Linked DNA regions of Homo sapiens: region 1 is linked to region 2. The links are contacts of gene promoters, found by promoter capture Hi-C in human tissues and cell types (Jung and others, 2019). All regions are on one chromosome and are shown on one strand. The core of a region is centred on a gene start or on the middle of the fragment in contact, and the rest is flanking DNA. Distances in the headings are between cores, read along the strand shown.

Evidence for each region. Contacts are between HindIII fragments. The study calls those that stand out against the background at their distance.
Region 1: a contact is called between a fragment that was not itself captured here and the fragment with the promoter of SHISA6 in region 2, in 2 of the 25 tissues and cell types used here (H1 embryonic stem cells and lymphoblastoid cells).

What each region holds. Positions count from the first base shown.
Region 1 is chr17:11,934,945-11,942,058 of GRCh38, reverse strand. It overlaps DNAH9 (dynein axonemal heavy chain 9), which reads right to left. Exons shown (of 69, transcript NM_001372.4): 66 at 4,537-4,707. Among named protein-coding and RNA genes, the nearest start is that of ZNF18, 59 kb to the left of the region's middle. The HindIII fragment of the contact is 9,228 bases long and covers 425-7,114 here.
Region 2 is chr17:11,235,842-11,242,943 of GRCh38, reverse strand. It overlaps SHISA6 (shisa family member 6), which reads right to left and starts at 1,731. Exons shown (of 6, transcript NM_207386.4): 1 at 884-1,731. The coding sequence starts at 1,521. The HindIII fragment of the contact is 17,378 bases long and covers 1-7,102 here.

The sequences.
Region 1 (7,114 bases), core at 3,789-6,288, 700 kb before region 2:
AGATGAACACAGATAGCTCTCTAAGAATTTGGAGTTGAAAAACTCAGAGGCTGATCCAGTTGGCTGTGGGAATCAAACTAGAAAGCCATAAGACAGACTTGGGCCAAAAGGTGGCCCCTGTGGGCCATGTGAAGCTGAAGTGATGAGCAGCAATGACAAATCTATCTATCTATATCCAGATACAGTATATCAATATACAGTTATATACAATATCTATCTATATCCAGATACAGTATATCAATATACAGTTATATACAATATCTATCTATCTATCATCTATCTAATCTGTCATTCATCTATCCATCTATCTAATCTATCACTATCTATCTATCTATCTATCTATCTATCTATCTATCTATCTATCCGGTCATCCACTCAGTTCTGAGTTTCTATGATGCAACACTGCAGTTTCTATCCTTGAGTTCTGGAAGAAACACCCTCATCTATCATGTAAACCTCCTGTTGTACCCCACGATTCTTTTCCCCACACAAACTGTCAGCTAATTAGATCAGGGGAGCTAGGACAAGTAGGGTCTCTCTCCTGGAAAACTGGAATTGAGGCTCAGAGATTCTGAGTTAATTTGGGGCAAGCACTTGGAGGTTGAGTCTGCCATTTTGGAATAAATGAGTAAGCCCAGGAGGTCTGTCAGCAGAGAAAGAAAAATGAAAAGTGCAGACATAATAGACCACACAGCCAGCAGGTTGGGACAGAGGGAGAGAGGGGAAGGAGGGAGGGAGTGAGCGAGCGCCAGCCATTTCTGGAGTCCTGAGAGCTGAGCTCTAGGTGCCTGTGGTGGATATCTGTTTTTGTCTGTTCATTATCTCTTTTCCCTTCTAGGAACAATTCCCTATCTCCTTTGTGAAACTATGTCTTCCCCATTGTTTTATGTTTATGTTTAGTCACTGGGCCCAGTTTCCCCTGAGCCAAGTTAGGCCAATCAGATTATGTTTCCCAGGAGCACAATGATTTGAATCTCAAGCCTGGAATCCAAGGAACCACTGGCAGGATGGGGGCGCCTGGAAAGGGCAGTCTACCCTTCTTTTACCTGGGACTCTAGAGCCATCGTGATTTTTTATCTCTTCTTAGGCTGACTCCCTTGATAGAGTGAGCCATTTCTTGCCTAGTTAAGCTCTGTTGGTGTCTATAGCTTGCAGCCAAGGAGGCCTGACCGAGTTAATACAGTTCTGCCCTGCATTACCCATGTGAACATAAGCAAGTTACTTAGGCCTCAATTTTCTCCAGCTGTAAACACTTCCAAGAGTGTCTTTTTCTCCACTTGTCCCCTTTCCCAACTCCCAGAGTTGATGTGAAGATCAAATCAAATGAGCTGATGAGTGTGGCAGTCTCTGAAAGCTATGAAGAACTATATAAGTGTAAAGGATGATAAATATTCACCTTGCCTTGTATTGTTAACACACAATGCCATCTCCAGGAAAAGAGCTGATGTTAGAAAAAAGAAAGTAAAAACCAATCACTCTGTCACGAATGGGTCTTTGGTGCTGTCATAGCAAAAACTGGAATCGGATTTTAATGGTACCTGAGAGCAGCTGCTGGGGTAGAAGACAAATGGCTAAAATTATATATATATTTTTCTCTGGAGCAGAGTTTGAAAAAACAGCTCTATATCAGCGAGCTTCCATTTGGACATTATTTACAAAGAGACGAAAAGATCGTCTGGAGGTATTGTTCCAAAATACACAGGACGTGGGGACACAGAGTTCTGGTTCATCTCTGATTAGGCTGTAAAGGGTGTGGGGGCCTGAGGAGGGAGAGGGCTGATAGGGAAGGACCCAGGTCCACAGACGTATGCGGGGCCCCTCTTTTGCTCAGGGAACCCAGAGACTCTTTCAGATAGGAGGAGTGGGTTCCAAGGGACGGAGTCCACCTTATTTCCACAGACAAACACTTCTGCTTTCTTCCTTTCTGGAAAAGTAATAAATGCTTATCAGAAAAATCTAAACATTTCTGATACACATGATATTAGAAGCAAAGTCCTCCTATAGTCTTAACTCTTCCCCCTGTGGGAGAAAAACACTGTTCAACTATTGGTTTTTTGGTATATATTCCTGCAGATGCCCTTCAGTGTACATAACTCTATTCCTCTATCATCCGTCCATCCACCCACTATCCATCCATCACCCATCTACCCATCACCCATCCATCCATCCATTCATCCATCAATTATCTATCCATCATCACCCATCTACCCATCATCCATCCATCCATCCATCCATCCATCCATCCATCCATGTATCTAACATGCCAACCTCCCTTCTCACTCCTTCTCTTTAGCTATATACTAAAATCCCCAGCTTCCCTTCATATAGATGTAAACATGGGAACAGAATTGAGTCAAGAGTTCATGAGTGTATGTGGAGTGTACAACCTCTCGGTCATTTACTTCTTAACAACAAAATACTCTCTGGGCTTTGACTCTTTGCCCCTCATCTTGAGCTGACCTGCGGTGTGGACAGGAAGGAAGATAGCTCATAGGAACATGTGAGCTATGTGAGAAACACCACCATGGCCAAATACTGGGATACTGCACAATCAGATGTGCACCCAGTAACCTGCACACGTGTCCCACACAGCATTGTGCATGGCAAGTGATCACAGTTCATATCATTTCTGAAATACACAAGCACATACACACCCCATTTCTTGGGTTAGCTGGGGGAGGGGATAAGGAAATGATAAGCATTAGAACCTTCTTTGAACCTTGACTGAAGAATTCTAAGTCTATTACTTATACAGTCTCAGCCTTTTCCAGTTTTAGATCTAGGAACATTATTCATTCTGGGTGGGTTCTTCTCTTTATTTTCAAATTATACATCAAATAGTGGAATAGACTGAGTAGAGTGATATGGAGCAGCTTTCTCGAAGTATGCTCACCTCATCAAAATCACTAGGTTGCCAATGCAACCTAACCCCAGACCTCGGAGTCAGAATTTCAATCTCTCTGGCACATTCTTAGGCATATTAAAATTTGAGAAATACTATTTTGATGACATGACTCCATACCTTTATATAAAAGTCCAACTCTTTTAGTATCAGTTTGCTTTCCTAAAATCAGTCTCTAGAGGCTAAAAGTTTGATAATCTTCCCAAGGATGTTTACTTGTAAACCTAATGGCATCTCTAAATTAAAGAACCCAGCTAGGACCGGGTGCAGTGGCTCACACCTATAATCCTAGCACTTTGGGAGGTCAAAATGAGAGGATTGCTTCAGCCCAGGAGTTCAAGACTAGCCTAGGCAACATAGTGCGACCCTGTCTCTACAAAAAGTTAAAAAATTAGCAGGGCGTGGTGGTACACACCTGCAGTCCTAGCTACTCAGGAGGCTGAGGTGGAAGGATTGCTTGAGGTTAGGAGTTGCAGGCTGTAGTGAGCTGTGATTATGCCACTGAACTCTCCAGCCTGGGTGATGGAGTGAAATCTTACTCTTAGAAAAATTAAATTAAAAAAAAAATCCAGGCAGTACCATGGGGTGGATGTCAGTTGGTACAAATACATCTTTAGGAAGTTGGTTAGCTTGTCTCAGAAAAAAATTCATGGAGAAATTTCCCTTTGGTGGCCCATTCTTTTTTTGTTTTTTTTTTTTTGGAGACAGTCTTGCTCTGTCACCAGGCTGGAGTGCAGTGGCACGGTCTTGGCTCACTGCAACCTCCACCTCCCAGGTTCAAGCAATTCTCCTGCCTCAGTCTCCCGAGTAGCTGGGATTACAGGCGCCCACCACCACACCCGGCTAATTTTTGTATTTTTTAGTAGAGATGGGGTTTCACCATGTTGGCCAGGCTGGTCTCGAACTCATGACCTCATGATCTGCCCGCCTTGGCCTCCCAAAGTGCTGGGATTACAGGTGTGAGGCCCATTCTTTCTTTATCTTCAGCTACCCCCACACCAGGATCAGAGCCCCCATGTTGCCTTGGGTTGTCCTGAAACCCACACCTCACCCTGGTCTGCCTTTCTACTCCATAATTCCCTTCCACCTTCCTAAAATTTCAGGAAGTCCTGTGCTTAGTGGCAGGTAACTGTGTATTTAGAGACTCTCGGACTAGAAGCCATTCACACGAAGGGAAGGCGTTTGCATTATGAAGGACTGTGTTCTTCCCCACTGGCATCTGGTTGGTGAACTGAGGTGGGGGTGCTCAGGGGCAACCCCTTACCCATCCTTGCTTGGTTTGCCAGGGGATCAAGAAGTCACATTCAAGGTTCCCAAGCCACCACTGTTCAGCCCTGCCCTTTCTTCACTTTGGCAGAGAAGCTGAATAAAAATGGACTTTGGGTGGACTGGCAAAGAAAACTGCTGAACCCAATGGCAGGGACTTCCTATGATTTAACTGATGGCCAGCATGGTGATGACGGGAGGGGAGAGGCTCTTGGCGGTGACAGGCAAGCATCTCCAGGCTGCAGGTGGTTGGTGCTTTGTGTGTTGTCTATGCTGTGTACTGCCAAAATGGCCAGCAGGAGAAAGGTGTGCATCTATGATCCTCGGGGTCCCCCAGAACGACCTCAGGCAGTCCCCACCACACACACCTTTTCTTCTCTTGTGGCGCCCGCTCCGTCTCTGGCCTGGCTGTCCCGAGGCTGCAGCTCCAGCACAGTGCGGAAGAGCTTTTCTGAGGTTTGGGTCAGGAAGCCAATCTCTGCGTTCGGGTGGAGGCCATAGAGGTAGGGGGATTCTGGGGGCAGCTCAGCATCGATGTACTGAAAATCAAGGGCAAGCTCACTTAAAAAGAAACCAGGACGTACCTCCCATCTCCCACACCGGCTTGTCCTCTGCAGGGAGTCCATGGGCTAGTATCCCTCCTCCAGGGGACACTGCTCACCATCCCTGGTTGACTTCATCACCCTCTCCACCTATTAGTGCACCTTGACATCATCCATTTTTGTCGGCTGGACCCGTTTCCCAAAACTTCCACATTCATTCTATCATTCTCTTTTTTCTGGGAGGCTTAGATGACTTTATCTATCTCCACACCCAATGCCTCCCACTCCTCCCTGATGACTCTTTTTCCTGCAGACCAGAGGAGGACTTCTCATAGTCTTTCAAAAATACGAATCCCTCCCTAGTGATTTTACGTAAGCTCTTCTAGGATTCCAGACCTTTCCTTCTTTTCTCTCCCCTCCATCTAAATCAGATATGACAAACCTGAACATGTACATGGGATGGCACATGCAAAATAAACAAGTGAATTGGGCTTAGGACGAAGGAGGTGAGATTGGCTGCGAACTGGAGAGTTTGCGCCCCTGGTGAAAGGTATTCAAATAAAAAAAATTTTGAAACTATGTGTCACCCTAGCAGCTCCTTTCTGTGGCCAGTGCTAGTGGCTAGAGTCTGCCATGCCTAATGCCTAAAAATCCTAACCAGCGGCTAAGGCTCAGTTTTATTTTATTTTATTTTATTGTGTGTGTGTGAGACAGGCTCTCACTCTGCTGAAAAAACTAGAGTACAGTAGTGTACAGTAGAGTACACAGCTCACTAAAGCCTCCACCTCCCAGGCTCAAGTGCTTTCCACCTCAGTCTCCCAAGTAGCTGGAAATACAGGTACATGCCACCATGCTCAAGCCGATTTTTTATTTCTATTTTTTGTAGAGATGAGGTCTCACTATGTTGCCTGGGCTGGTCTCTAACTCATCAGCTCAAGTGATCCTCCAGCCTTGACTTTCCAAAGTTCTGGGATTACAGGCGGGAGCCACCGCGCCTGGCTCTGAATGTTTTGAGCGCCTCTTCATGGCTCTTTATACGATGGTGGGAAAATATCCCTCAAGTTCCGTTCCTGATATGATTTTGACGATTCCTTGGTGTTATTAACACCTAGCCTAATAGATTGCCCATTCCTCAAGGGCCGATCTGTATGTTCATTTTTGTATTTCCTCCAGCGTTCTGTGCAGGCCTGGACTCTATGTAGATGCCCTAGAACCATCTATTAACTAACACATTAAAGAGAAGTATAAGAAAGAGAGTGTACCTCAGTCATTTGGAAATGTGCAAATCGATTTCACCCTTGCTGAATAAGAAAAACAGACTTCCTTTGCCTGTTACTTGCTCCAGCCTCCTGTCGAATTATCCCATGGACACTAGGGGACGCTGTTGCACAATTTTCCCGGGAAAAGCCTTTTTGCCTTTGGTGAAGTAGTTAAAAACATTTCCTCTTATTTTCCTTAAAGAGCTTTATTGTTTTAAATCTCCTCTTATAGGTCCAATTTTTCTGGATCAAATGACTTTTACGATTTACCCTTAAGTTTAATGAATTAAAGAAATTTTTTTAAAGCTTGCAGTTAATATTCCTGTGATCAATATTTCCCTTATGTTTTATATTCAAGAGTTTTTCTAGGCATGTTCAAAAGCCTACCAATAAAAACTGCTAAAAAATATCTTTCGGGCCGGGCGCGGTGGCTCACGCCTGTAATCCCAGCACTTTGGGAGGCTGAGGTGGGAGGATCATGAGGTCAGGAGTTCGAGACCAGCCTGACCAACATGATGAAACCCCGTCTCTACTAAAAATACAAAAATTAGCTGGGCGTGGTGACGCACGCCTGTAATCCCAGCTACTCAGGAGGCTGAGGCAGGAGAATCACTTGAACCAGGGAGGCGGAGGTTGCAGTGAGCCGAGATCGCGCTATTCCACTCCAGCCTGGGTGACAGAGTGAGACTCCGTCTTATAAAAAAAAAAAAAAAAAATCTTTTGGAATGTTTTCCATGGAAGGTGAAATAGGCAAAGATGAATACTTTAAACATAGCTGTGGTAATAGTAACATAAAAGACCGAAGTAATAGTAAGAAAACCTCCATGAGGCCGGGCGTGCTGGCTCACACCTGTAATCCCAGCACTTTGGGAGGCCGAGGCAGGTGGATCACCTGAGGTTAGGAGTTCGAGACCAGCTTCGCCAACACGATGAAACCCCGTCTCCACTAAAAAATACAAAAACCGGGTGTGGTGGTGGGGGCCTGTAATCCCAGCTACTCAGGAGGCTGAGGCAGGGAGAATAGCTTGAACCTGGGAGGCGGAGGTTGCAGTGAGCCAAGATCGCACCACTGTATTCCAGCCTGGGTGACAGATCAAGACTCCGTCTCATAAAAGAAAAGAAAAGAAAGCCTTCATGAGAATGCT
Region 2 (7,102 bases), core at 482-2,981:
ATTCCTAGAGTTCTAAGGGGAGGCTGGGTTTCTGTCATCCCCTTGGCTTTGACTTCCCCAAGGGCTCACTGGGGGGCAAGATGGTGCGTCGGGGCAGCATTCAGCGTGCAACCAGGGACTGCCATAGTTTGAGCTCTTGGCGTAAGTTTTGGTAGGAGGCAGCTCCCACTGTCTTTCGAACGTAAGCAGTGAAAGATGCCCCACCAGGTTTAACACAGGCGAGTACTGTTAACTCAGAGTTCTGCCTACAGGGTTTCAAAGAACGAGTCCTCTAGTCTCAGCAGGAAAGATAAACATCCCACTCCGCAGGATGCAATGAGGAGACACCATCTGTGCTTGGTCAACATGGAATGGAGAAATCTTTATCCCTACTTCCGGCAGGAGGCATCCTTTCTATAAAACCCCAATTCCTAATGTACGAGAACATCTCAGTTGACCCTAAGCCACTTGGTACCGCTTTCAGTAAGGTTCCAACATTGGTCAGTTTCCTATATTGAAGATGACACTCTGATTTGACTCAAAAAACTAAATGCCATTAAGAACCTACACCAAAGTGCCCTCATGCCAGGAAAGCAGAACCCTGGATCCTCATCCACGATTACAGAATTTGTAACATTCTTACACTTGGAACTTCATGCACTCAACCAATTCTTACTCTGCCTTGTAAATCCCCCTACCACCAAAGCATGCATTCCCGGTTCTGAAGAAATGGAGGAGGGGGCACAAGAAGACCCTGATTTATTGCATGCAAAAGGAGCGATGGTGGAAATGACTAGAGGGCCTGGGGAGGTGTGATGATGCCGAGAGTGAAGAGGACAGGGGAAGCAAGCTGAGAGGGTGAGGCCGCGGGGAGACCGGGGCGCGCGGCACGCGGCGCTCTCACCTGTGGATGTTCATCTCCCGTGGAGGGCGGTGGGCCTTGTCGTAGGAGACCTTGGCGAAGACGCCGGCCACGATGACGAAGGCGATCACCCCGCAGGTGATGTAGACGGTGAAGTTGGTCTTGTCCTTCTCCGGGTCGTACTTGTTCTCGGGCCCCGGCGACACCACCTTGGTGCTGGGCGTCTGTACCCACACCGGGCTCTGGTAGTTGGTGCACTGGCGCTGGTCCAGCTTCTCGTGGCGCTTCTTGCAGCAGAAGCGGTAGTAGCAGGTACCGCAGCAGTACAGGTAGCCGCTCTCGCTGTTGTTACACTCGAACTCCTTGTCGTACTGGCCGCTCACGTCGTAGTAGCCCCAGCACGTCTCGTAGGTGACGGCCGCGCTGGCCGCCGCCGCCACAGCCGCCGCGGGCTGCCCCCGCCGGCTTCCCGCCTCCGGGATTCCGGGCGCCCGGGCGGTGCCGTTCAGCTCGCGGCCGCCCCGTGCCAGGGCGCCCCCGGCCCTCCGGCCCCCGACGGCAGCGCCGCCTGCACTCAGGGTCCGGTTGGCGGCGCGGCCGCGGGCTCCGTGGACGCTGGGCAGCAGGTCCAGGGACTCCAGCGAGAGCAGCAGCAGCAGCAGGAGGCGCCGCAGCGCCATGGCGGGGCCGGGCGGGAGGGCGCGGGGAGGCTTCCGCGGCAGGCCGCTCCCCCGGCGGGCCGGGCTCGGAGGACCCGCCGCGCGGGCCGGGCTGGAGGCGCTGAGCGGTCAGCGGCTCCGGGGCGATGGCGCCATCGAGGCGCGGGCGGCAGTGGCGGCGGCGGCGCGCGGTGCGCACGGACCGGCCCGGCGCGGGCTGCTCGGGCTCTCAGGCTGCGCGCCGGCTCCGCGCTCCCCCTGCGGGCTCGGCGCGCCTCCTGGGCAGCCCCATCCCCCGCCGGCGGTGACTGCGGCCCCGCGCGCGGCTCGGCTCAGGCAGGACCCGAAGCGCGGCTCCGGGCGGCGGCGGCGGCGGCGGCGGCGTGGTCCCGTCCGGGCGGGTCCTGCGGGACAAGACGGGGAGCCGGTCACGGGGTGGGGCGACTGGCGCTCCGGGAGCAGGAGGAGAACCGCGGGCAGGCGGGCGGGGAGGGTGCGCGCAGCCCTCGAGGAGAGAGACTCGGAGCCGGGAGGGGCGTAGAGCCCGCTCCCAAGACGGGGTCCCGCGGCCCTGCGCGCCTGGAACCGAGAGCGCACGGGCCGCCCCTCCAGGCGCAGCTCGGCCGCCCGGGTCCCCCAGCCGCCCGGCCCCGCAGCGCGCTCCCGCCGCAGGCTGGCTCCCTGGGACGGAGCCGGTTGAGGCTGGGGTCCGGCGGCGAGCCGGGAGAGCGCGCGGCGGCTGGACCTCACTCACTCACCATGCCCGGCTGCGACTGCAGAGGCGGCGGCGGCGGCGGCGGCGGCGGCGGCGGGGCGAGGCGGGAACGCAGCTGCCGGAGCGAGCGAGCGGAGAGCCGCCGGCTCGCCGCCTGCACTAGTGCCGGAACGTGTGCGAGAGTGAGCGAGGGAGACACACGCACTCACACACCCGCACACACGGGAGCGCCGCGAGGGGAGGGGGGACAGGGGAGGGGAGGGCAGCCGCTCTCCGCCACCCACGTTTGCACGCCCGGGCGCTCAGGGTGCGGGGCGGGGGGGACTCCTTTTCGCTTCTTCCGGATCGCAGCAGTTGAAGCTCCGCGTCACGAAAGCTCCGGACAGCAGTTATTCGACACGGCGAACCCGGCGGGCGAAGAGGGGGCCGGGAGCAGGGCGGAACGTCCGCTCTGCAGCCGGCCCGCGGCAGGGACTGACCTCCCCTGCCATTGCCTTCTCTAGCCTTCGCGACCAGTCCCCACCCTACCGGAGCCCGGGGCAGCGCGCTGCCTGAGCGGGAGTTGGGGTTTCTGCAAGCCTTTGCCTCTCCCTAGTGGTGATACTCGCAGCCAGGAGAAGAGGTCAAACCCATTGCTACAGGTTCCCAAACTGAGTCCAGGGGTCAAGTGGCTTGTCTGAGGCTGTTGGGCGACCCGTGAGCTGAGCCTACACTCTCTTCCCCTTGGTCACTCTTTCCCCAACCCCGTACCCACTACGCATAAAGGCGCTAGACAGCCCCAGGACTGGATGGCAACTCTTTGCTATACTTTTTTTTTTCCCCGCGGAGCCTCGAGGCCATTAGAAAGCTATCTGAACCTCTGAGACTCAGCTTTGTAACCCCTGTGTTGAAATCTCTGTGCTGCAGCTCCTATGGGAGGTGAGGAGGATGGGGGTGCAGGGCGGGGGTGCTTTCCGGGGTAGTTGCGTGTCTGGGTCTGTGGAAAGGAGGCCTGAGTCTAACTTTCACAGCTACGAGGCCATCCCAAAAGAGAATCATAGTACCATCCTTGGCGTGTGTCCTTGGAGGAGGTAGGGGGAACTGAGAACAAAAAGCGATGGCCAAGGCCAAGATTCTGCCTGCGTGACCAGCGTGCTTTGGTTGAAGGCAGGGAACTGAAGGCAGGGAACAGGCTGTCAGAGCGAGGGCGGTAGAGAATTTTCCCTGAGACTTTCTGTTCAGTCCCACTCATGTGTGACCTAAACAAGGGATCCCTATCCAGGAACAGAAGAGTTCCTCTTTTGGGAACCGTGGAATGGATATATTAGAGCTCGAACTCAGACTCCAAGACACAAGAGGGAGATCCTGATATTGACTAGGGGGTGGGGTGGGGGGCGGTGCACAGACTATCCCCGCAGCTCCCCACTTGCTACTGTCTCCATTCCCTCCCTCTTCCTCTGCACTTCCTCCCGTTCCCTTAACTTCTCAGTTGCCACCTTCTTCTTAAAGATTCTGTCCAACAAACATTTGTTTAGTGCCTACTCCCTGCCAGCAGAATGAATAAGAGAGTCCCTTTCCTCAAGGAGGGGGACCTTGTAGACCATTAGGGAGACAGATAAACAAATGATTTCCACATGGCAAGGTTACGTCTCATGATAAAGGCGGGCAGGGTGCTCTGAGAGCAGAAGACAGGCACCCAGCCTAGGCCTGCAAGGGGACAGATGGGGGTCAAATGTAGCTTTCTCAATGAGGTAGAGCAGAATCTTGAAGAATGGATTACGAGTTAATACAGCAAGCAAGAGGGGAAGGAGGCTCCCAGCAGAGGGAACATCCTTAGCAGAACCAGAAAGACAGGAAGTGGTTAAGGTGTGTGAGCAGGGATGCAAGCAGTTTAGCGTGAACCCTGAGGGAGTCTTCCAAATAAGGCTAGCAGGAGGGTATTGAATCCTCCCTTGCAAAGAACTTGAATTTATTCTACAATTGCTGGGGAACTGTTGGTGGGTTTTAATCAGGAGAAGACACTGTCAGTTTTACATGTTTGCTGGATCTCTGAGTCAAATGGAGTAGGGAACACTGGACTGGACGCAGGAAAAGCAATTTGGAAGCTGTCCTGATAATACAGGTAAAAAATGATGAAGGGATGCAGTAGATTACTGGGAGTTGATGCCCACAGTGGAAATAAGCATGGCTGAAAAAGCAGGTTCAGGACAGAGTTAGCAATAGTCGTGTTGTGGTTCCTTTGAGAGAACTAAGTGGAGCTGTCCTGCACAAGAATTGCAAGCTCAGAAGAGAAGATAAGACAGGCATATACATTTGGGAATCATAAGAACATATTTGAAGACAACAGCCTTATATATTTACCTTTACACTCTGTGCAATTTCTAAGCTATTCCCTTCTTTGTCTCTTCCATGAGCCTTCACCATCCCTTCATTATTCCAGAATTTGCTTTTCCATGTCTGAGAGCCCCTTAATGATGGATAGGAGAAATGTGTCCTCCTCACATCAGACTCTAATGATTTGTTCAGCGGCATTAAGTAGGGGAAACTGATTTGGTTTCTCAGACCACCACCACCTATAAATGTATCCTGAACCCCTGTGCTCATAAGTGGTGGCATCAACACTCATGGAAATAATAGCATCTCAGGGTTGTGTAAGATCTTAGGGGTTATATATCCCAACTCTTGCTGCAGTACACTGTATTTCTTATTGACATTTCCAGCCCTCCTGGTTTGCCCTTTGTAGTAGAAAAGGTTGCTTGGTTACCACCATACATTTCTCTTTTCTCCTTCTAGTTTGAGCGCCTGAATTGTTGACAGTATTAAAGTGCTCTTTCTTTGTGGATTTGACTCAATAAAAAGTACCAGAGAAGAATCATCTCTTCCAACACCTCCACCAACTTCAGACAGTCCTGAGGTTCAGGGGAGAGTGACCCAGTCCCTGGTTGTAGAAGGCAAATGAAGGCAAATGCTGATTGGGTTGAGCTAGACATAATAAATCTTTTTCCCCTTCACAGGGATTAAGAAGGGACATATGATCCAGTTCTAGCCAATACTAAGTGAGAGAAGTTTGCAGGGGGTTTCTGGGGAAATTTTCTTGCTCTTAAAAATAGTGATAATTCCTTCTTCTTCTTCTTCTTCTTCTTCTTCTTCTTCTTCTTCTTCTTCTTCTTCTTCCTCTTCTTCTTCTTTTCTCTTCTTCTTTTCTTCTTCTTTCTTCTTCTTTCTTCTTCTTTCTTCTCCTCCTTCTCCTTCTCCTCCTTCTCCTTCTCTTCTTCTCCTTCTTCTCCTTCTCCTTCTCCTTCCTTCTTTCTTCTTTCTTCTTCTTTTTTTGGTGTTATTTCTCTGGATGTTGTTACCTTGGGGTTGGGGCACCAGCTAAGAGTTGAAGTTGATCTTCTTTTCTTTTTTTTCTTGAGACAAGGTCTTACTCTGTTGCTCAGGCTGGAATGCAGTGGCGTGATCTCAGCTCACTGCAACCTCCGTCTCCCAGGTTCAGGCGATTCTCTTGCCTCAGCCTCCCTAGTAGCTGGGATTACAGACACCAGCCACCGAGCCTGGCTAAGTTTTGCATTTTTAGTAGAGACTGGGTTTCACCATATTGGCTAGGCTGGTCTTGAACTCCTGATCTCAGGTGATCCACCCGCCTTGGCCTCCCAAAGTGTTGGGATTACAGGCTTGAGCCACCGCATCCGGCCTCAATTTTATAGTTGTTAGCACTGCTTACCAAATATCTCTGCCTCCCAGGCATGTAGTAGAATTGCAATTCCTAGCCCACTTGTGAGTAGGAGGGGAAAGTGACTAGTATCAGTCAATGAGTTGTGAGCAGAAATGATGTGTGTTATTTTTGAAACAGAGCATCTAATTGCTGCTGCAAGACACTCTAGAATTTTCATTTTCTTCTGGCATGGTGATCAGCGATGTTCTATATGGGAGTGGTTTTTGTCAGTGTGAGTACTTAGGTGACTATAGTGAGGAATGCCTGATAGCTAATAAAAATAGTGTCCCACGATGGGCATGTAGCATGAGTAAATATAGATCAATAGATAGATAGATAGTACATAGAGATATAAATATAAAAAAAATAAATATTTCTATCTATAAATATCTATCTATATCTCTATCTATTAATATCTATCCATCTCTCTATGTATCTGCTTTTTAAAGCCACTGGAATTGAGGCCTATTATTGCAGCGTATCCTAGCCCACCCTGACTGATACACTGAGGGTGCCAGCTGAAAAGATGGACAGAACATCATTGGGCCACTCAAAGAGGTATGCTCAGGGCCTTCCCATCTCTGGTCTTCCAGTAACGTGAGATAATTAAGTTTCCTTTTATTGAAGCCTGTCTGAATCCAAAGTTTCTCTTTCATGTAGCCAATGGCATCCTAATAAATACATCATGCATTGTCTGTCTCGGTTCTGAATTTCTCTAGGGCTTCTACCTAGCTATGCAATTTTGAACTAATCCTATAACTTCCATGGGGTTCAGTTCACTCCTCTATAAATGAGCAGCTAAGTGAAGGGAGTACCTCTAAGAAGTTACCTCTATTGCCACTTCACAGTGTGTCTTTACCATGAACCTCAAGTATGAACTTGGGCCATGGCCTGGCATGACCTGCTCGCCTGCTGTCCTTCTAAGCTCATCTCCTGCCACTCTCCGCATACTCCCTCCCCTCAGCTATGCTGGTGTCCTTGTGTTCCTCAAGGCCTTGGTATTTGCTGTGCTCTCTGTCTGGAGATCTTATCCCCAAATGTATGTAGAGTTATTTCTCTCACTTCTGTAGATTTCTACTTAAGAATCACTGATGAAAATAGCACAACCATCATACCACTACCCACCATTTCCTCTTCCATCGTGTTCTACCTTCACCTTATCATGATGAATTTTCCAGCATGGCATTTATCTC